6 separate regions of the Homo sapiens genome follow, and all the other regions are linked to region 2. The links are contacts of gene promoters, found by promoter capture Hi-C in blood cells and fetal thymus (Javierre and others, 2016). All regions are on one chromosome and are shown on one strand. Each heading gives the region's core, a stretch centred on a gene start or on the middle of the fragment in contact. The rest is flanking DNA. Distances are from core to core; before and after follow the strand shown. Region 1 overlaps SMCHD1 (structural maintenance of chromosomes flexible hinge domain containing 1). Region 2 holds the start of MYL12B (myosin light chain 12B). Region 3 overlaps DLGAP1 (DLG associated protein 1). Region 4 overlaps SMCHD1 (structural maintenance of chromosomes flexible hinge domain containing 1). Region 5 overlaps SMCHD1 (structural maintenance of chromosomes flexible hinge domain containing 1). Region 6 overlaps SMCHD1 (structural maintenance of chromosomes flexible hinge domain containing 1).

Evidence for each region. The method cuts DNA at HindIII sites, captures the fragments that hold promoters and counts their contacts. A CHiCAGO score of 5 or more calls a contact.
Region 1: a contact is called between a fragment that was not itself captured here and the fragment with the promoter of MYL12B in region 2, in 1 of 17 cell types (neutrophils). The highest score is 7.9, in neutrophils.
Region 3: a fragment that was not itself captured here is called in contact with the fragment with the promoter of MYL12B in region 2 in 2 of 17 cell types (M1 macrophages and M0 macrophages); the score reaches 5.8 in M1 macrophages.
Region 4: a fragment that was not itself captured here is called in contact with the fragment with the promoter of MYL12B in region 2 in 1 of 17 cell types (neutrophils); the score reaches 6.2 in neutrophils.
Region 5: a contact is called between a fragment that was not itself captured here and the fragment with the promoter of MYL12B in region 2, in 1 of 17 cell types (neutrophils). The highest score is 6.6, in neutrophils.
Region 6: a contact is called between a fragment that was not itself captured here and the fragment with the promoter of MYL12B in region 2, in 1 of 17 cell types (neutrophils). The highest score is 6.6, in neutrophils.

What each region holds. Positions count from the first base shown.
Region 1 is chr18:2,746,726-2,749,950 of GRCh38, forward strand. It overlaps SMCHD1 (structural maintenance of chromosomes flexible hinge domain containing 1), which reads left to right. Exons shown (of 48, transcript NM_015295.3): 30 at 797-922. Among named protein-coding and RNA genes, the nearest start is that of SMCHD1, 93 kb to the left of the region's middle. The HindIII fragment of the contact is 3,053 bases long and covers 1-2,816 here.
Region 2 is chr18:3,260,673-3,263,666 of GRCh38, forward strand. It overlaps MYL12B (myosin light chain 12B), which reads left to right and starts at 1,461. Exons shown (of 4, transcript NM_033546.4): 1 at 1,461-1,565. MYL12-AS1 (MYL12A and MYL12B antisense RNA 1) reads right to left here and starts at 1,687. Exons shown (of 4, transcript NR_130145.1): 1 at 1,381-1,687; 2 at 600-658. RefSeq lists an enhancer at 857-906 and a silencer at 1,117-2,006. The HindIII fragment of the contact is 3,443 bases long and covers 1-2,871 here.
Region 3 is chr18:3,783,834-3,787,134 of GRCh38, forward strand. All of the region lies in intron 5 of DLGAP1 (DLG associated protein 1), which reads right to left. Among named protein-coding and RNA genes, the nearest start is that of DLGAP1-AS3, 93 kb to the right of the region's middle. The HindIII fragment of the contact is 620 bases long and covers 1,350-1,969 here.
Region 4 is chr18:2,691,194-2,694,137 of GRCh38, forward strand. The region is part of intron 7 of SMCHD1 (structural maintenance of chromosomes flexible hinge domain containing 1); the gene reads left to right. Among named protein-coding and RNA genes, the nearest start is that of SMCHD1, 37 kb to the left of the region's middle. The HindIII fragment of the contact is 3,138 bases long and covers 75-2,944 here.
Region 5 is chr18:2,727,857-2,731,143 of GRCh38, forward strand. SMCHD1 (structural maintenance of chromosomes flexible hinge domain containing 1) reads left to right here. Exons shown (of 48, transcript NM_015295.3): 23 at 601-740; 24 at 1,419-1,553. Among named protein-coding and RNA genes, the nearest start is that of SMCHD1, 74 kb to the left of the region's middle. The HindIII fragment of the contact is 1,448 bases long and covers 744-2,191 here.
Region 6 is chr18:2,709,095-2,712,323 of GRCh38, forward strand. All of the region lies in intron 17 of SMCHD1 (structural maintenance of chromosomes flexible hinge domain containing 1), which reads left to right. Among named protein-coding and RNA genes, the nearest start is that of SMCHD1, 55 kb to the left of the region's middle. The HindIII fragment of the contact is 775 bases long and covers 893-1,667 here.

The DNA.
Region 1 (3,225 bases), core at 40-2,539, 510 kb before region 2:
GGTGATAAATCAGTTTTTTTTTGTAGTTGTCCTTTAGTTCCCTTCCATCTTTTGTAAACTTTTAAAATGTTGGCCCAGGGGATTGGGCTTTTGTCAGGTATCTTGTTTAACACTGTGTTTCCTTTGATGTGCCCAATATTAATAGGTCAGTAGGCAGATTTCTAGATTTATACAGCCTTATATACTAGCTGGGGAAACAGCAAGAAGCATTTTAAATCAGCAAGACAGTGTAGATCATCAGTGAATAGTCCTATTTAACCAAGGGCTAGAAAGCCATGTTACTGCTTTTAATGCACAATAGCAGAGAGCTGAACACTGACTGAGGGAGAAGCTAAACTACAGATTGCCAATGCTAAATCTGAGAACCAAAGATAGGTTTCTGTTGCTGTTGAACACATTCTAGTGCTTACATAGCATTTGCGTTGTATTAGATGTTAAAAGTAATCTAAAGATGATTTCAAGTGTATGCTTAGGTTATATGCAAATACTATGCAATTTTATATAAAAGAGTACCTGCAGCTTTTGGTATCCACTGGGGTCTAGAACCAATCTCCTGTGGATACTGAGGGAAGACTGTAATGTCAGGTGTTGCTTTTTCTTTTTTCAGATCATTTATCATTTTGATAAGAGGGTCACACAATTTAGTTGGCTTTCAAAAGTTCATTTTCATTGACCAAAGAAGCCATTTGCAAATAGAACAGAGATAAATTAAGTGATCGTTACACAAATATACAAGTAATTGCATTGTTTGGCCCATATATTTTAGTGTTTCTTAAAATATTTCTATTCTTTTCAGTCCATTCCAGTGATTAATGGAAGAGATTTACAGAACCCTATTATTGTTCAACTTTGTGATCAGTGGGATAATCCAGCACCGGTACAACATGTTAAAATAAGTCTTACAAAAGCTAGCAATTTAAAGGTAAGTTTTAAACTTCCTTACATCTTCATTTAAAATTCTGGATTTCATTTTCATGATAGTATCTTTAGCTGTCATATTGCTTCTTTTCTAAAAAATATATTTTACATAATCTTTATTATTGCTTAGTGTAAATAAACCTCAAAAATTTTTAAAATTATTTTGAGGAAATAAAGTTTATATCTTACAGTAGTACAACAAGGGGCCAACATTGTACAGTTATGGCTGTTTTAGTGTTTCTTATATAGTGCTAGTAAGACTTGCATTTCAGATTAGGATGAATAAATAGATAATTAACACTGACAAAGTGAATGAAGACAGATATCACAGTGACCTACAGAATGGATTAAGGAACAGGCATTATTGGGGAAACATACATGGTGAGGCTAAACAAAAAAAGTCTTGCAGGTACCTATCCTCTACTTATCTTATGGAGAGCTACCAAATCCTGGGCAGAGCTACTGGAACATACTGATATATTTTAGGGTGAGGCTCCTGCCCTTTATTGTTCTTTTTATGGGGCAAGTATGAACATGGTCTTGTAAAGTTTGGGAACAGTCTTGACTACCAGAAAGTTCAAGATTAGGTATCATTTATTCCTATGAGTATTGAGAAGCTGCATGGGATCTAGTGGCTGGTGCAAAGTTGGAGGCACTCCTTCTAGGGGAAAGAGGAAAAGCTGCTAGTCTTTGCAAAGTTGTGTGTGTGTGTGTGTGTGTGTGTGTGTGTGTGTGTGTGTATATAAATTTTTTTTTTTTTTTTTTTGGAGACAGAGTCTCGCTGCAACGCCCCAGGCTGGAGTGCAGTGGCGTGATCTTGGCTCACTGCAACCTCTGCCTCCCAGGTTCAAAGCAATTCTCCTGCCTCCGCCTCCTGAGTAGTTGGGATTACAGGCATGTGCCATCATGCCCAGCTAATTTTTGTATTTTTAGTACAGACGGGGTTTCACCACGTTGGCCAGGCTGGTCTCAAACTCTTGACCGCGGGTGATCCACCCGCCTTGGTCTCCCAAAGTGCTGGGATTACAGGTGTGAGCCACTGCGCCTGGCCATAAAGTTGTATTTTTATACTGTCTCTTCTGTTGGTTGAAGGGAATTCATTGGTCCCAGCCAGGTTGTTGCTAAGCAAGCCAGAGGGAGTTGGGGTCATATTCAGACAATCTTGAGTATCCCTCCACATATAAAAAATAAATATAAATGTAATGGAGAAACCAGTTGATATCATGTAAAGATGATGTTTCTCTTGCAATTATTTATAGTTCAATCAGAATCCCAACAGGGATTTCCCAGAACCTGAAAAGGTGATCTTAAAAGTCGTATGGAAGATTAAAGTGCCAAGAATGGCTTGTTACACATGGACCTGTTTTCATAGTAATTACAGTTGGAGTTTTTAAATGAGTCTGTTAAATGAGGCTATGATACTGCTGCTCTAAGACCTGAAAAGACTTACTTCTCTGGCTTAGCAGTAAGGATTTGATACCCAGATGGGAGACATACTTTGAGAAAGATGGGTTGAGAGACAATGGACCAGAGGGTAATTGGGACAGGTATAAACATAGGATTTCATCCTATCATTTCAAGTACCCTTTCTCATTTTTTCCTGTTCAGCTATTGCTTTTCCTGTCTGCATGTACCATTATTACCTACTCTTTAGGTTCTATTAAGTTGAGATGGGTTTTAGGATTTGGGAGAAAGTCTGATTTTTCTTCTACTGTGGTCTACAAATTCACTGTTATTCTGAATGTTTGCTTCCAGTAGAGTTAGACAATGATTACTTTCAACCCCAGAATAAAGATATGATTCTAGTTTCTGGAGAACCATCTGTAAAAGGCTGAGAGACCCTTCTAGACCAGTTATTAGGAAATGTGGCCACTGATTCTTAATCTCTTGAAAGTGAAAGCTTGGTTATCACTGTGAATGTAGTATTGCAGCAAAAATTTGAGAAGTGTATCTGAGTAGACTTTCAAGAGAAAAATGAAGAATGAAGATAGTGCTATGATGCTTTGACTTGAGTATGTGTGTACAGTATATATTTCTCCAGTGCAGTCCCCTATACCTGCCCCAGCTTTAGAATATACCTTCTGTGTTTGTGTAAACAAACTTCATTTGATCTATCAGTGATATTGAAACAGTGAACTAGAAATCTGCAACTTAGTAACTGAAATACATTAAATTCTAGTGAAATTGATCAAGATGAGTGATTGTTATTCTACTTTGGATTATATCATTACATACTACATTATTCCAACTAGTTCAGATTTTTAAAATTTAGATTTTAGAAGTATGCAAATACTGCTTTTAAAATAG
Region 2 (2,994 bases), core at 211-2,710:
CGTATCAAATACAACTGAGGAACTAAATTTAAGTTTAGCTGCATGTGGTTAGTGACGATTGTATTGGACAGCACAATTCTAGAAACTTTTTTTTTTTTAATTTAGACTATCGAACCAAAACCTAAGAGTAAATATTGTAGAACCAGGTGTGACTTTTCAGCAATTGCTTTTCTAACACTATTGAGAAAATACACACAGTTATGAACCGCGTTTAGAGCTGTGCTGCTGGGATGGCGACCACCCCATCAGCATCATGTGTGCTTACCAGAAATTCGAATTATCCTCCACCCCTTACTCACTGAATCCTGATACCCGGTTTTGAGGCTCAAAAATGTTTTTAAAAGCCCTGTTATTATGCGTGCTACTGTTTAAGAACTGCTACAGAGTGCTGAACACAAGGTCCCTCTCTTCTAGGAATTTCTGATCAAAGATTTCTAGAATATAAACTCCCTAAGAGGCTTTGAATTCATCTCTCAGCATCCGGCACATGTTAAGGCAGTAAGAAGAGTTCAATAAAGATTTGCTATTAGATTGCCGATCCTCCACCATCCTGAAGTAATGCTATTTTAGTAATGCTAGATGAAGTAATGCTAGATTACCTCAAGGTGAGGGAAAATATCCTGAAGAACACAGCCACAAACACGATCTAGAACAAAACCTGAAAAACGTAGCTTTGTGTTTTTATTTGTGTGTGCATGTATGTGTGTGCGTTGCCATTTTCTTGATAAAGGAAAGCAAGTAGTTCGAATAAAACTTTCTTGTGGCCAAAAGGGGAATCAAACAGCCGTAGGCTGCGGCCGTAGCCTGATACGGCCGTAAACCTTATGAGGGTAAGCAGAGAGGAGTAGGTTAAAGAATTTAACTCGGGCTGTAATGCGGTTTGAAAAGAGAAAGGGATTCTGGAACGGAGAAGAATCCGCCCAGGCGCCGCCCTCACCTTCTCAACATTACATGAGACGAACCCTAAAACCTGTCTTGTCTGAAATTCAAATTTAGAAGAACTGTACTTTTACTTGCTACATCTGGCAACTCAGGGTTCGGCGCCAGGGGACCCCAAATCCTAGGCGGATCGCGCCCCGCCTGGGTCAAAGGGGACCCCAAATCCTCGGCCGATCGCGGCCCACTCGGGTCAAATTCCAGCGGCCTGCCCAGCCGCGCCCAGCGGGCCCAGGAATGCGGAAGGGTGGCGGAGCTACCAAAGGAGCGGGGGACGAGGGCCGGGCTGCGGACGACCGCCGCAGCGCAGGCCGCGATATCGCAGCGGATCGGAGCAGGCCGGAGGGGCAATTAAGACCCCGGCCGTGTGCGTCCGGCCTCAGCAGCCCCGCCGCTCGGCGGACACGCAGACCCCGCCGGCCCGGGCGCGAACACTCAGCGCACCCCCGTTCCACTTGGTCCCGCCGCGCCTTCCGGTGCGCCTTCCGGTGCGCCTTCCGGTGCGCCTTCCGCTCCGCCCCTTCAGGCAGGAAGTGTCGGCGCCGCCACTGTCCGGCCACAGCCTAACGCTCTTCGCTGTCGTTTGTGGTCTCGCGCAGGGCGGCCCCGGTTCTGGTGTTTGGCGTCGGGTGAGTCGCGCTCGACTCTGCTCGCGAGACCCCTCGGGCCGCCGTCTCCGTACCCCCGCGCCCCCTCCCGTCGCGCGCCTGCGGCCGGACCCCGCCCCAGGGCGGCCAGGCGGCGGCAGGACCTGTCAGACTGGCTGAGAAGGGGGCGCGGGGCCGGAGGTGGAGGGAGGAGGGTTGGCGGCGGGAGGAGGGTTGGTGGCGAGGCCCTGGCCCGGACGTCCAGGGGCCGGGAGGCTGCAGGCGATGGAGCCGGTATGGGGAGACGCCCTGCTGGAGAAGTGGCCGGGTCCCGGCCGTGCGTGGGCCGGCCCTGCGCCACCTGGGTGACCTCAGACACCTGGGCCTTGGACGGCCCGGCTGCCCGGCGGCCAACGCCTGCCCTCCCGGCGCCGCGGCGGGTCCTGGCGGTGGATTGGGGCCGACCCGGGCGTGTTCGTGTGGAGCACCTGCCCTGTGCCCAACACTATCCTAGATGCTTTGGAGGGTGGAGGAGCCTCCTGTTGCACGGTCTTGCCTAAGGTGAAGCCTCCAAGGAAGCCATTAGCATGCCGGTAACCGAGTGTGTGGTTGATACGGGCTCAAATGTGATGATTTACATAGAGTTGTAATTCGCTCAGTGTGTCTTGCATCTTGTAAAGGTTTAGTTTATTCGTGTTGATTGAAGAAAGGACCATTAACAGAAATAGGGAAAGGTTACTTGGAAAAGAGTCGTGACCTCACTGAAGGCCTTGGATTCAACCTTAAGAGGGAGAACTTAGCGTTTCCGGCTAGATGTGTGGGAGGTGGTAACGAGCAAAACTCAAAAGCTGGGAATTGTGTCCTGTGAAAAGCAGGCCGTGGGGACACCGGCGGGTATGGAACAGAACTGTAATGACTAATAGTCGGAAATAAGGGTAGATAGGTAAGTAGGACCTTCTTATGGATGTCTTGAAAACTTAGGAGAAAGAAAAGATTATCTAAGAAGCCATAGAGAGTAATTTTGGAGTCTTCACTAACGGAGTAATAAGAAAGGGATGTTTAGAGGATTCGTTTGGCCGCTTTAGTTTAAGGTAGATTTGGAATGGTCTTTTGGTAAGAGAAGAATCAAAGCATTTAGAATTCAGTAGGACCTGATAGATTACCTTGTGAAGGCTTTGCGTTTTATAACTGAGGAAAGTGAAACCCAGAGAGGTGAGGTAATTTGTCGAAGGTGGTGGACCCTCCTGGACTTTATAACTAAGAGCACTTTTGAGTGCTTTAGGCTCTTTTGAGTGAAACAGCTTTTATGATGGCTGACTCGATGTTCGTTTATGCTTTGATGAAACTAAGCTTGAACAAGATGAACTGCAATTTCTGAAGGACAGATGTCCAGACAAGAGTTGCTAGGGTTAGGAAAGAACAGGATTTAGAGCCCCGACATGGGGCTAGTTTTCCCTTTCTCCCAAGATTC
Region 3 (3,301 bases), core at 410-2,909, 520 kb after region 2:
GAATATAAGGCTTTTCCCTTTCTATGGATGCCACAGCGATTTCGAGAGGGGTAATACTGGTGGTGGTGAGAATCTTATGTGTCCTCATAAGTGAAACCGATGTTTAAGCACTGAGGTAAAGTGCTTAAATTAATCTGCTTTTTGTCTGCTTTTTGCTCCTGGCCCCTGGCTGGTGGGCTCATTTTTCTCTCTGTATGCTGATCTTGTGTGTCCAACAAAAGCATAATTTCCAAATTTGAGCATGAGGTCTTTTGTCTACAATGGAAGTCATTGCACAGACTAGAGTGTAAAGAAACAAATTGTGTTTGTGTGTATGTTTGCAAATCCATGTGTAAGTGGGAGGCCGATGAAGGGAGAAGTGTCAGCCCCCAAGCCATTGTTTGTTCCTGTGTGCTGCATCCTAGGCTCCCCCGAGTTGGCCTGTTTAGGCGCACAAGGCACCTCATCTCGGCTGCTTCTTTCTTGGACCCCCCCTAGTTGTTGGGTCTCGATGTGTAGCAACAACCTGGGGGCCGGGTACTCACCAACCTCTATCCTAGCCTTCTTTTCTATCAAGGTTTGTTTTCCGTTTTCTTCTTCTTTTTCGTAAGCTGTTATAGTCTCTGGAATGACTTGGGTCTGCCGTGTATGTGTTATTTTTTAAGAATCCTGGAGAATCTATTTTTACTCCTCTGTTCAGGTGTCCAAATGCTGAAGACATTTTCTCCCAATCAACGGCAACCCACCCACAATGTCAGTGCGTTCTCTGATTAGGCCTCTTGATGACGGCCGGATCCCTGCCCGGCTCTGCGCCCGCGATGCTCCTGGGGTGCCCACACAGAACTGCTCCTGACGAGGAAAAAAGGGGGACGTTCCAGGCCCAGTCTGGATCCAGTGCAATGAGCGAGAGCCTTGGGGAAAAGGCGCTGCCAGAATTTTATTTTGTTAAAAACTGTATTGAGAAAACAAAGATAATCTCTAGAATTGGTTCTAAAATTCAAGTGAAACCTGTAAACATGCAGGTGACAGGGCTCTGGCTGCCTCCCTGGCCTCGTCTTCTACCCCTTGTCCCTTGTCCTCCTGCTGCCAGCCACTGGCCTTCTTGCTGCTCCCTGTATCATACAACCACGCTCCTGCTGCAAGGCCTTTTCTGGGTTTGTAAAATGAAAACCCAGGTACTTCTCCCTTTAAAAAAAATCCACCTTACTTTACAGACTGAAAAATAATGACTGCTTCCCTTCTCATATGTTTTTAAATAATCTATGCAGCAGTTGTGCATTCATTCACTTCATTTGTGCTCCCACTGATGGAAGTAGTTTTGAAGAACAGGCTGTATTAGTTTCCTGTTGCTGCTGTAACAAATTACCACAAGCTTAGAGGCTTAGAAAACCCACAGAGTTATTATCTTACAGTTCTGGAGGCTGGAAGGCTGGAATGGGTCTTAAGGGCTGCAGTCAAGGTCTCAGCAGGGCTGAGTTGCTTACGGATGCTGGAGGGGACAGCCTGTTCCTTTGCTTTGTAGGGGCCCAAGGAAAACATCCCCTTCGCCCTCTGAAGGTTCACTGAAAAACTGGCTGACAAAAAGCAGATTAATAGAAAAAAAGGCATGCAACATTTATTCTAATGTGCATAGCATGGGAGAATTGCAGGAGAATGAGTACTCAATAACTCAGTGGAGTACAGATCTTATAAAGCCTTCTGCCTAGGGGAGGGGGACATGGGGGAATGTAGACCATTCTTTTGAGGGGCAGTAAATGATCATTAGGGAGAATGAATGGGCCTAGAAGACAGAAATTAACTTGTAAATGGAATTTGGATTTTGAATGAACCTGGGAGGTATTGTCTTGTGAAAAGGTCTGTCCAGGTGGGTTTGCATCCTCAGTGTTCTTTTCTGAGATAGCGAATGAGATTTACAGGGATGGGAGGTGGAAGGCAACTGTGGTTCTCTTTGGGGTCTGGTTCCCAGGTGGATAAGAGAATACCGAAGAAAAGCTTCGCCCTATGCCTTAGGAGAAACAGAGGATTGAAAGGGAGCAGGGGAGCAGGTCAGAGAGACCTTGAGGACTTTGAGGCTACTTCTGTAGTTCAGTCATATTTTGGGGTAAAGTGTGCTGGCTTCCTTCAGCCTTTTTTCCCTCCTAGAGGCAGTCTATATTTCTTGGCTGTGGCCCTTTCTTACATCTTCAAAGCCAGTGGTGCAGCATCCTCCAATGCTTCCTTCTCTCTCCAACTCTGCTTCTGCTGTCATCTCCTCCCCTGACCCAGACCCTCCTGCCTCCCTTTTATAAGATCCCTCAGATGACATTGATCTCACTGGGATAATCTCTTCATCTCAAGATCCTGAACTTAATCACATCTGCAAAGTCCATTTTGTCATGTAAGGTAACAAATTCACAGGTTCTAGGGATTGGGATTTAGACATCTTTGGGGGGCATTATTCTCCCATCCACAGAGGTCAAAGGCTGAGATAATTCAAATGCATTATTTTGCACCAAATGCTCCCATTTGGTTTTTATGATGACGATGATGATGACTAGATAGGCCCCTATGTAGTACTAGGAAACCAAAAATAGTTACAGAAAATAGAAATAAACCTGTTAAAATACTTAATGAGAATAAACCAGTAAAAATTACAGAGGCACATGTGGGCTTAGTGAATAATATCTTTCTAATGCAGAGAAGATGTCATCCATGGAAAAGGCTATCAGTGGTATGTGTGGTCTTGGGTTTGGACTAGCTATGGTGCGTGCCAGCATGGAACTCTCCAACTTCAGCAGTCCTTGGTTCTGACAAGGAACTCTCAGCATTTGACCAATCACCTGCAGTCACAGGTGAGAACATGGGGCCCTCACTGAGCAAAGACCAAGCCTTTTAAGTGTACCTCAAAAATAAGCTAAGTTAATGGAAAATAGGAGTGAATGACTGCAGTGTTTATTTTTAAATTGCTTTCAAGTGGTGCATCTGTTGTATAAAACAAGACATTTCAGCTCAATAAATTTTTGGACAATGTCTCCTCTAGTTATCAGAAACTTGGTATTAATGACGAACTCTGGCTTCTAGCTCAAAGTCAAAGAACAGTGGAAAATGAATGTGCTTCAATGAGGAACCACAACCTAATAGAGATTTCATGGAGTGTGTTGTTCGCATTTTTACATTGTCTTAGATGAAAGCAGTGAATAAGTACCAAATGGTGAATCTTGAAACCCATCATGGGAGAATTAGCAGTGGTTATTTGTGCAACAAGCAGAAGTAATGAGTATTACAAGAGAACTTAGGTTTCTAAAAACAAGTTTAGGAAAAATGCTCATGATAATCAAAATAG
Region 4 (2,944 bases), core at 394-2,893, 570 kb before region 2:
CTTGCCATGATAAAACTGGTGAAAAATAGGAATTGAGAATTTAGGTGGTTTTCAAAACTGTGTGCATATTACAAAGCTTGTATACAACTGTGTCTCTTGGAGCACCATTTTTCTGCCAGCCTTTTCTGTGTTTTGTGCTTAGTTCTTCCCAACAAACATTTCTTGGGTACCAACAAGTACCTGGTCTGTTTCCTTTTCTGACTAGTCTTTTCCAGCCTATTTTTGTTGGACTTCTATCTCTGATCTGTGAGCAGTTTTCAGAATGTGGGTGGAATTGGTGGTTCTTGTTCTATAGTCAACAGTCTTACCTTTTCTAAAGATGTGTTATTTGCTACTTATGTCAAAAGCTCTCAAATCTGTGTTTCGTGTGAAAACTTTTCTCAATACTGAGACACTGAATCATGCTAGCTTCAGTAAAGGAAACAGACCATCCTGGGCCTTTTAACAGAAAATATTTAATAGAGGGAATTAGATGCTTACCTGATTATTGGAAGGGCCAAAGGAATGAATTATGGGCTAAGCCTTCTAGAATGATGCCAGGAATCTGAAGTTATCCTGGAGGGATGCTGCAACATTTGCTATAATCATTCAGTTAGAGGACCACCACTGGGTCTGGGATTCAGGAACTCGCTGCTGTATCTGTGATCCACGAGTTGGAATGATCTCACTGCCACAATTGCTCCAAAACTGGAAAACAGAGTTTCTGGCCATAACTAGGGCTGCAGTGGCCTTTTGACACTTTAAACCTGAAACCTGGTTACTGATCTTTCAGTGCCTTGTGTGATAACACAAAACTTTTAAAAAACTTCAGGAAATAGCCTCTGCTTCATTTTTGGCATCCACATTTTGGCTGGTACATCTAATTGGTGAAAACTAATTTGCATCCACAATCCAAACAGTATTTTTTTGCCTTCCAACCTCTGCAGCCCAAGAGAGTACAGTAAAAGGTGGTAGGAATGGGTGATGAATACCAACTGATCATATCCAGTACACTCATTTCCAGGTTCAATTAGATGTTCTTTCTTAGGTGTTCGAGGAGTAACTCACTTTTGGTACCTTTGAAGTCAAATATTGGCTGGGCACAGTGGCTCATGCCTGTAATCCTAGCAGTTTGGGAGGCTGCGGAGGGAGAATCTCTTGAGCCCAGGAGTTCAAGACCAGCTGGGCAACATTGAGAGACCATGTCTCTTAAAAGAAAGAGATCAAATATTATCCGTAAACCTTTCTTATTCTCTCCTTCTCCTGTCTTCCTCTCAACTACCCTTTACAATTACTGGCATCCACTAGCCATGCAGTTAAAGTTGGTAATCCTTTTTGTTAATCATTCAGCACATTTAATTTTGTCTTTTATATTATTTTCTTTCATCTATCCTCTCTTCCACCCACTTTCCACTGCTCTAATTCAGCCATCCCGCTTCATCTTTTATCATGTTTATCGTATGTCCTAAAACTACCTTGTTTCCTTTATGCTCTTGAATTCATGTTCTCATTTGTCTGGAATGTTATTATTCAGTCATCTGCTGGGTGACTGTCACCCTCGTTTTACCTCTGTAGCTCTTGGTTCATATCTTCATACATAATAGCATATTGTTTTGTAATCATTTGTTTTTTCATCTCCTACCAGATGGAATTTGTAGAGCACAAAGGCACTGTCTTATTTATCTTGAACCTATCTTTCTCAGGCCCAAGTTGAGGCATAGGACTTACAGAAGATGCTTGATAAATATTTGGATAATGAATTTGCATCGTTAGTAAATTCAGACTAATCTCCTGACTCAAAGTATATGAAATGTTACTTGTATATATTGTAGCTGTGATATTAGCAATTAGTGTATAGAGATGCATTATAATGGTTTTGAAGGGGTATGGTCTTAAGGATTTATTGTTTTTTAAATCAGAAATTTTAGAATTTGATAGACAAATTCTGAAAGAGCTGTAACACTTTTTAATTAAGCAAGTAATCATACATACTTATTTTTAAAAATCAACTTGATTTCCTAGATAGAATAGTTTAGTCTGTTTTTATTTCCACAGTTTTATAATGTATATAGCAACATACACAGTAGATATAGTCTCCTATCACTTAAGGACAGGGATGCATTCTGAGAAATGTGTCATTAGGTTATTTTGTTGCTATGTGAACATCATAGAGTGTACTTATACAAACTTAGATGGCATAGCCTGCTACACACCTAGGCTATATGGTATAGGGTACTGCTCCTAGTCTACAAATTTGTACAGCTTGTTACCCCAGGCAGTTGTAACAGAATGGTAAATATTTGTGTAGCTAAACATAGAAAAGGTACACTAATTTTACAATACTGTATCATCTTATGGGACCACTGCAGTCAATTGTTGACAAAAATGTTATGTGACATATGACTGTATATGAATACACACACAAACGCGCATGCGTGCATACCATGTTTTTTGTTTGTTTGTTTGTTTGTTTGTTTGTTTTTTGAGACATGCTTGTTGCCCAGGCTGGAGTGCAGTGGCGCGATCTTGGCTCACTGCAACCTCAGCCTCCCGGGCTCAAGCGATTCTCCTGCCTCAGCCTCCCTAGTAGCTGGGTTTATAGGCGTGTACCACCACGCCTGGCTACTTTTGTATTTTAAGTAGAGATGGGGTTTCGGCTTGTTGGCCAGGCTGATCTTAAACTCCTGACCTCAGGTGATCTGCCCGCCTCAACCTCCCAAAGTGCTGGGATTACGGGAGTGAGCTACCACGCCCGGCCTGCAATTTTTTAAAACATAGATTCATACTACAGATGGAGAAGTTTGTAATTTTATCCTCAAATTCCCCTACTAACTCCCTTCCATAAGTTTTAGATATTCTCTGAAAGTGGGTTGGTGTCCAGGATGATTTTACTTTTAAGCACTATGTGTTTGGGCTTAGCTAGCTGGGTCCAGCCTGCCCTGTAGTTTTCTTGAACATGGAGGGC
Region 5 (3,287 bases), core at 218-2,717, 530 kb before region 2:
TTGTTATCAGTATGTAGCATTAATTGAATTTTAAAATATCAGTGTTTATGAACGAATCAGACTGGCTTACTGTAGAAGTATAAGCCTACTTTTCTTAATCTTAAAGGAAATTTGTGATGTTAATTGCTTATGACATCAGAGGTAGTGGGCAATCTAACAAGTAAATGACCTGATCATGTCATTACAAGAACTAATTCTTTGAATGTCTAAAACATATAGTTACTTGTGCCAGAAAAATCATCAGGTAAGATTGGTAAATAGTTTTAATAAGCTGTTATTTTTGTTTTTGAATACCTTTTTCCCAGTATCTTTTAAAGATTTTAGGTGATTTCTAATATGAATTATCACTGTGTTGTACCTTGTGGAATAAAACTTAGCCTAGACACCAAGCATTTTATACAATTGAGATAAGTCTTGTCATGTATTGAATCTGTGCATTTTGGGATGAAACTGATTAAGCATGGACATTGCCTATATTTTTCTTTCTTGGCAATATTTATAAAATATTAAGTCTTTAATGTTAAAGTTATTTCTTTTGCTATTTCAGTACTTTAGTCTTTGAAACCTGAATATGTATTTCATTGTATAATTTACTGTTAGGTCACCCTCGTCGACTGAAAGTGAAACCTGATTCTGAAATTTTAGTTATAGAAAATGGAACAGCTTTCCCATTTCAGGTGGAAGTTTTAGATGAATCAGACAACATAACAGCACAACCAAAATTGATTGTTCATTGTAAGGTAAGCTTATTGGAAGATATTTAGATTGAGTCCCATTGTAGTAAGTGGCAATGACTATTTTAGCCACTTAATAGTAAGTCTTACACAGGATTTAAGTCTGAAACGATTATTCCGTGGAAGGATTTGTGGGATCTTATTGCCAATAGTTTTTTTTTTTTAATCGTACCTAAACCAATAAAGATGCCAACTGTGCCCAGTTTCATAAATTTGTGAATAAAAGTTTACTCACCTCTCCTCTCTTGACTCCATGCCTCTCATTTCATATATATGAATAGAAAGACAAAAATGTCTTTCAGGATTGGGAATGGGCTGCTCTGCCTATGGAGTAGCCATTCTTTATTCCTTTACTTTAGGGAAAAAAAAAAAAAGGGAATGATGACTAAATGAAGGTAGGTAAAAGACCGCAGAAAGAAAAAGAAAATCCAGTTAAGTAAAAAAGAAAAGGATTGTAATTGAGGAAGTTAGTTCTTTCCTTCCAAAACAGATAAATTTTACATAGTATAGTAGAAAATTACTGTTTTTGTTCAGTATTCTAGAGTTTTAGTGACTTTTACTTAGAATTTTCTTATTCATTGCCAGAAATAGTAGCTCTACTGAATTATTTGAAACTTTGAACAATTACGGAAGAATCAAATATATTTAATAGGGGTCTTACATTATTTTTCATCTTTCAAATAGTTTTCAGGTGCTCCAAACCTTCCAGTCTATGTTGTAGATTGCAGTAGTTCTGGAACCAGTATTTTAACAGGATCTGCAATTCAAGTTCAGAATATTAAAAAAGACCAGACGCTTAAAGCAAGAATTGAAATACCTGTAAGTTATTATTGTTACTCATTGATATTATATTGAGTCTTCATACAAATAGTCTTCAACTGCTTAATAACATTTTTTGCAAAATTGTTAACTTCTGAAAATGAGGTATTTGTGGTTCTTTCAGCCAAAGCAAAGCAAAGACAATATGAAATGCTGTAATGACTATTTTAACATTTTGTGTCAAATATTAGTAATTGTCTTGATTTTTACAGTGTCTTTTATAGTGTCTATAACTATTATTGATTTACATTTCCCTAAAATATTTTTCTTCTATTAAAATACATAATTTTATTCTTTCGCTTTTTTTTTTTTTTAAAGAGATAGGGTCTCACTCTGTTGTCTAGGCTGGAGTGCAGTGGCACAATCATGACTTGCTGCAGCCTCCAACTCCTAAGCTCTAGTGATGTGCTCACCTCAGCCTCCCAAGTAACTGGGACTATAGACAAGGACCAATGCACCTGGTTATTTATTTATTATTTATTTTTTGAAAAAGAGGGTCTTGCTGTGTTGCCCAGTCTGATCTCAACTTCCTGTCCACAAGCAGTCTTCCCACCTTGGCCACCCAAAGTGCTGAAGTTATAGGTGTGCACCACTGTGCCCAGCCATTTTGCTTTTTATCGTTCTCATTTGTTTTAGAAAGCTTGGTAAATATCTCTGTTTAAACCACCATGGAAGGACATATAAACCTTTAATTTTTGTATGTAATTTTCTATACACACATAGCTTTTTATTTGTGTTTTTACACAAAGGGATTTTTTTTATTTCTATTTATATTTTTTGAGATGGAATCTTGCTCTGTTGCCCAGGCTGGAGTACAGTGGCACGATCTCAGCTCACTGCAAGCTCTGCCTCCTGGGTTCACGCCATTCCCCTGCCTCAGCCTCCCCAGTAGCTGGGACTACAGGCACCCGCCACCACGCCTGACTGATTTTTTGTATTTTTAGTAGAGATGGGGTTTCACCGTGTTAGCCAGGATGGTCTCGACCTCCTGAGCTCGTGATCCACCCACCTCGGCCTCCCAAAGTGCTGGGATTACAGGCGTGAGCCACCGTGCCTGGCCCACAAAGGGATTTCTATATCATGTGCCAGTAGGATGCTTTTTATTGGTGATTCATCGTGGCTGATAGCAAAGCCAACATGGAGGCAAGAGCTGTAAACAATCTAAGGTTGTGGAGTGGGATAACAAATACTTAAGTAAAACTTCAAAGGTTGCTGAGTAGGGTAACAGATACTTAAGTAAAATACTTAAATGTGATTTCTTAGTAATTGATATGGTGATAGATAATCTAATTGGTTGATTAACTCATACTTTCCTACTAATTATACATCAGTTATTAACATAGCTTGAACCTCAAATGGATACAAGATGTCTTTTACTTTTTAAATTAGAATGAGATGACTCTTCATTCCAGTTCTTTTTAAGCTTGTTATATTTGATAAGCTTAAAGTATTTTTTATGCATTTTCTTTATGCAATAATATGGGCAACATACTTTTGAGCACACTTTCTTGCAAAAGATGACTATGAATTAGGGAGGAATCTGGACTTGGAGGCAAGAGCAGCAGGCATTAGGACTTTTGTAAATACTACAGACCACTCAGGAGAAGACCAAGAATTCAGGTCAGTTAAAACAAATGCCAACGTAAATCCTCTAATAGGCAGTTACAAAATGTTATCCAATGGCAATAACTGAGTTTAGGAGTAAGGCAAGTAAGATACAACAGAAGATGGTTA
Region 6 (3,229 bases), core at 30-2,529, 550 kb before region 2:
TTTTAGGTACCTCATAAAAATGGAATTATATTTGTCCTTTGTGTCTGGCCTGTTTCGCTTAGCATAGTGTGTCAGAATTCCCATTCCTTCTTAAGGTTGAATAATATTCCCTTGTGTGTGTATATATGTGTATATGTGTATATATATATATATATACACACACACATGTATACACATACACCATATTTTGTTTATCCATTTGTTTGATGGATACTCAGGTTACTTTCACCTGTTGTCTATCGTGAAGAATGCTCCTGTGAACATCAGTGTACAAATAGTTCTTTGAGTCTCCGCTTTGGTTCCTTTTAGATACATTCCCAAAAGTGGACTTGCTGGGTCATATTATTATTTAATTTATTGAGAAACTGCCGTACTGTTTTCCACAGTGGTTGCCTCATTGTACATTCCAGTTTCTCCATGTCACCCCCACTTGTTATTTCCTGTGGGTTTTTTTGTGGGGGACGGATAATAGCCATCCTAACAGATATGAAGTGGTATCTTACTGTGGTTTTTTCCCCCCTTTTTCCTACTAAAGATAATTGTGGTTTTGATTTGCATTTCCCCAATATTCAGTGATTTTGGCCATCTTTTTATGGGCTAATTGCCATCTGTATATCTTCTTTGGACAAAGGTCTATTCAGGTCCTTTGGCCATTTTTAAATTTTGTTGTTGAGTTGTAAGAGTTCTTTATAATCCTGGATATTAATCCCTTATCAGATAAATGATTTACAGATATTTTCTTCCACTCTGTGGGTTGCTTTTTCACTTTGTCAATGGTGACTGTGATGCACAAAACTTTTTAATTTTGACAAACAATTAGTTTCTTTTTTCTTTTGTTGGCTGTGCTTTTGGTGTCTTATCCAAGAGATTGTTACTAAATTCAGTGTTACGAAGCTTTTCCTGAATGTTTTTTCCTTACAAATTTTATAGCTTTAGCTCTGTTGTTATTACTTTGATCCATCTGACCTTGACTTTTGCATATGGTTAACTTCTTTTTATATGGAAAACTTCTTTTGCCTGTAGATATCCAGTTTTTCCAGCACCATTTGTCAAAGACTATACTTTCTCTATTGAATTGTTTTGGCCCACTTGTTGAAAGTCAGTTGACCACATATGTGAGAATTTATTTCTGGGCTCCCTGTTCCCTAGGTCTATATGTCTGTTCATATGCCCATGCTGCACTGTTTTTGTTTACTGTAGCTTTGTAAGTTTTAAAATGAGGAGGTGTGAGTCCTCCAACTTTATTCTTGTTTTTTAAGATTGTTTTGGCTATTTGGGTCCATGGAGATTCCCTATGAATGTAGGATGCGTTTTTCTATTTCTGCAGAAAACACCATTGCGATCCTGGTAGGGATTACACTGAATATGCAGATCACTTTGAGTATTATTTTTACCTTAGCAATTGTAAGTCATTCAATCCGTGAACATGATTTTGTATCTGCAACTTTGCTGAGTTTATTAGCTATACCAGGGTTTTTTTTATGGATTATTTAGGTTTTTTCATATATGAACATGTCATTTATGAACGGAAATAACTTATTCTTTTCCAAAGTGGATGCCTTTTATTTCTTTTTCTTACCTAATTGGTCTGGCTAGGACTTAAAATACTATGTTGAATAGAAGTAACCAAAATGAGAATCTTGTCCTGTTCCTGATGTTAGAGGAAAAGCTTTTAAGTCTTTAACAGTTGAGTACATGCGATGTTAACTGCGGGTCTTATATAAGGCCTTTATCATGTTGAAGAAGTTTCTTTCTATTCCTTGTGTAGTGTTTTTATCATGAAAGAGTATTGTTTTCCCAAATGTTTTCTCTGCATCAGTCCAGATAATTATGTAGGTTTATTCTCTCAAAGTGATGTATTGCGTTGATTGGTTGTTTTTTGTTTTTTGGGGTTTTTTTTGAGACGGGTTCTCACTCTGTCACCCAGGCTGGAATGATGCGGCACAGTCGTGGCTTACTGCAGCCTCAAACTCCTGGGCTCAAGTGGTCCTCCCACGTCAGCCTCCTGAGTAGCTAGGACTACAGACATGCTCATTGCACCCAGCTAATTTTTTTTTTTCTTTTTATCAATGGATGAGAGTTTTTTAAAAATATTGACGAGGTTGGCCTCGAACGCGTAGCCTCACCTCCTTATGCACCAGGACAACTGCCCTGAGCCACCATGGCTCCCTTTTTTTTTTTTTGTGGTGGAGACAGGGTCTCCTATGCTGCCCAGGCTAGTCTCAAACTCATGGCCTCAAATGACCTCTTGCCTCAGTCTCCCAAAGTGTTAGGATTACAGGCATGAGCCACTGCACGTAGCCTTGTTTGTTTTTTATTTGTTGAGCCATGCTTGCATTCCAAGAGTAAATCTCACTTGGTTGTTATGTATAGTTTGGATGTTTGTCTTTTTTTTTTTTTTTTTTTGAGACGGAGTCTCGCTCTGTCGCCCAGGCTGGAGTGCAGTGGCGGGATCTCGGCTCACTGCAAGCTCCGCCTCCCGGGTTCACGCCATTCTCCTGCCTCAGCCTCCCAAGTAGCTGGGACTACAGGCGCCCGCCACTACGCCCGGCTAATTTTTTGTATTTTTAGTAGAGACGGGGTTTCACCGTTTTAGCCGGGATGGTCTCGATCTCCTGACCTCGTGATCCGCCCGCCTCGGCCTCCCAAAGTGCTGGGATTACAGGCGTGAGCCACCGCGCCCGGCCTGGATGTTTGTCTTGATCCCCGGTGTTGGAGGTGGGACCTAATGGGAGGTTTTGGAGTCATAGGTGCACATCTCTCATGAAGGGCTTATTGTGTGAGTTCTTGCTCTATTATTTCCCATGAGAGCTGGTTGTTAAAAAGAACCTGGCACCTCCCTCACCCCTCTTTTGCCATATGATCTCTGCATACACTGGCTCCCCTTCACCTTCCACCATGAGTGGAAGCAGCCTGAGGCTTTCACCAGATGCCCAGTCTTCCAGCCAGCAGAACTGTGAACCAAATAAACATCCTTTTCTTATAAATTATTCAGCCTCAGGTATTCCTTTACAACAACACTATATAGACTAAGGTGAGTTCTTTTAAAATTGTGCTGAATTTGGCTTGCTAGCATATTGTTGAGAATTTTTGCATCAATATTCATAAGGGATTTTGGTCTGTAGTTTTCTTTTTCCTTTTTTTTTTTTTTGATGTCTGTGTCTGACTTTGGTATCAGATAATGTTGACCTCAAAGAATGAATGAGTTAGGAAGTGTTCTCTCCTCTTT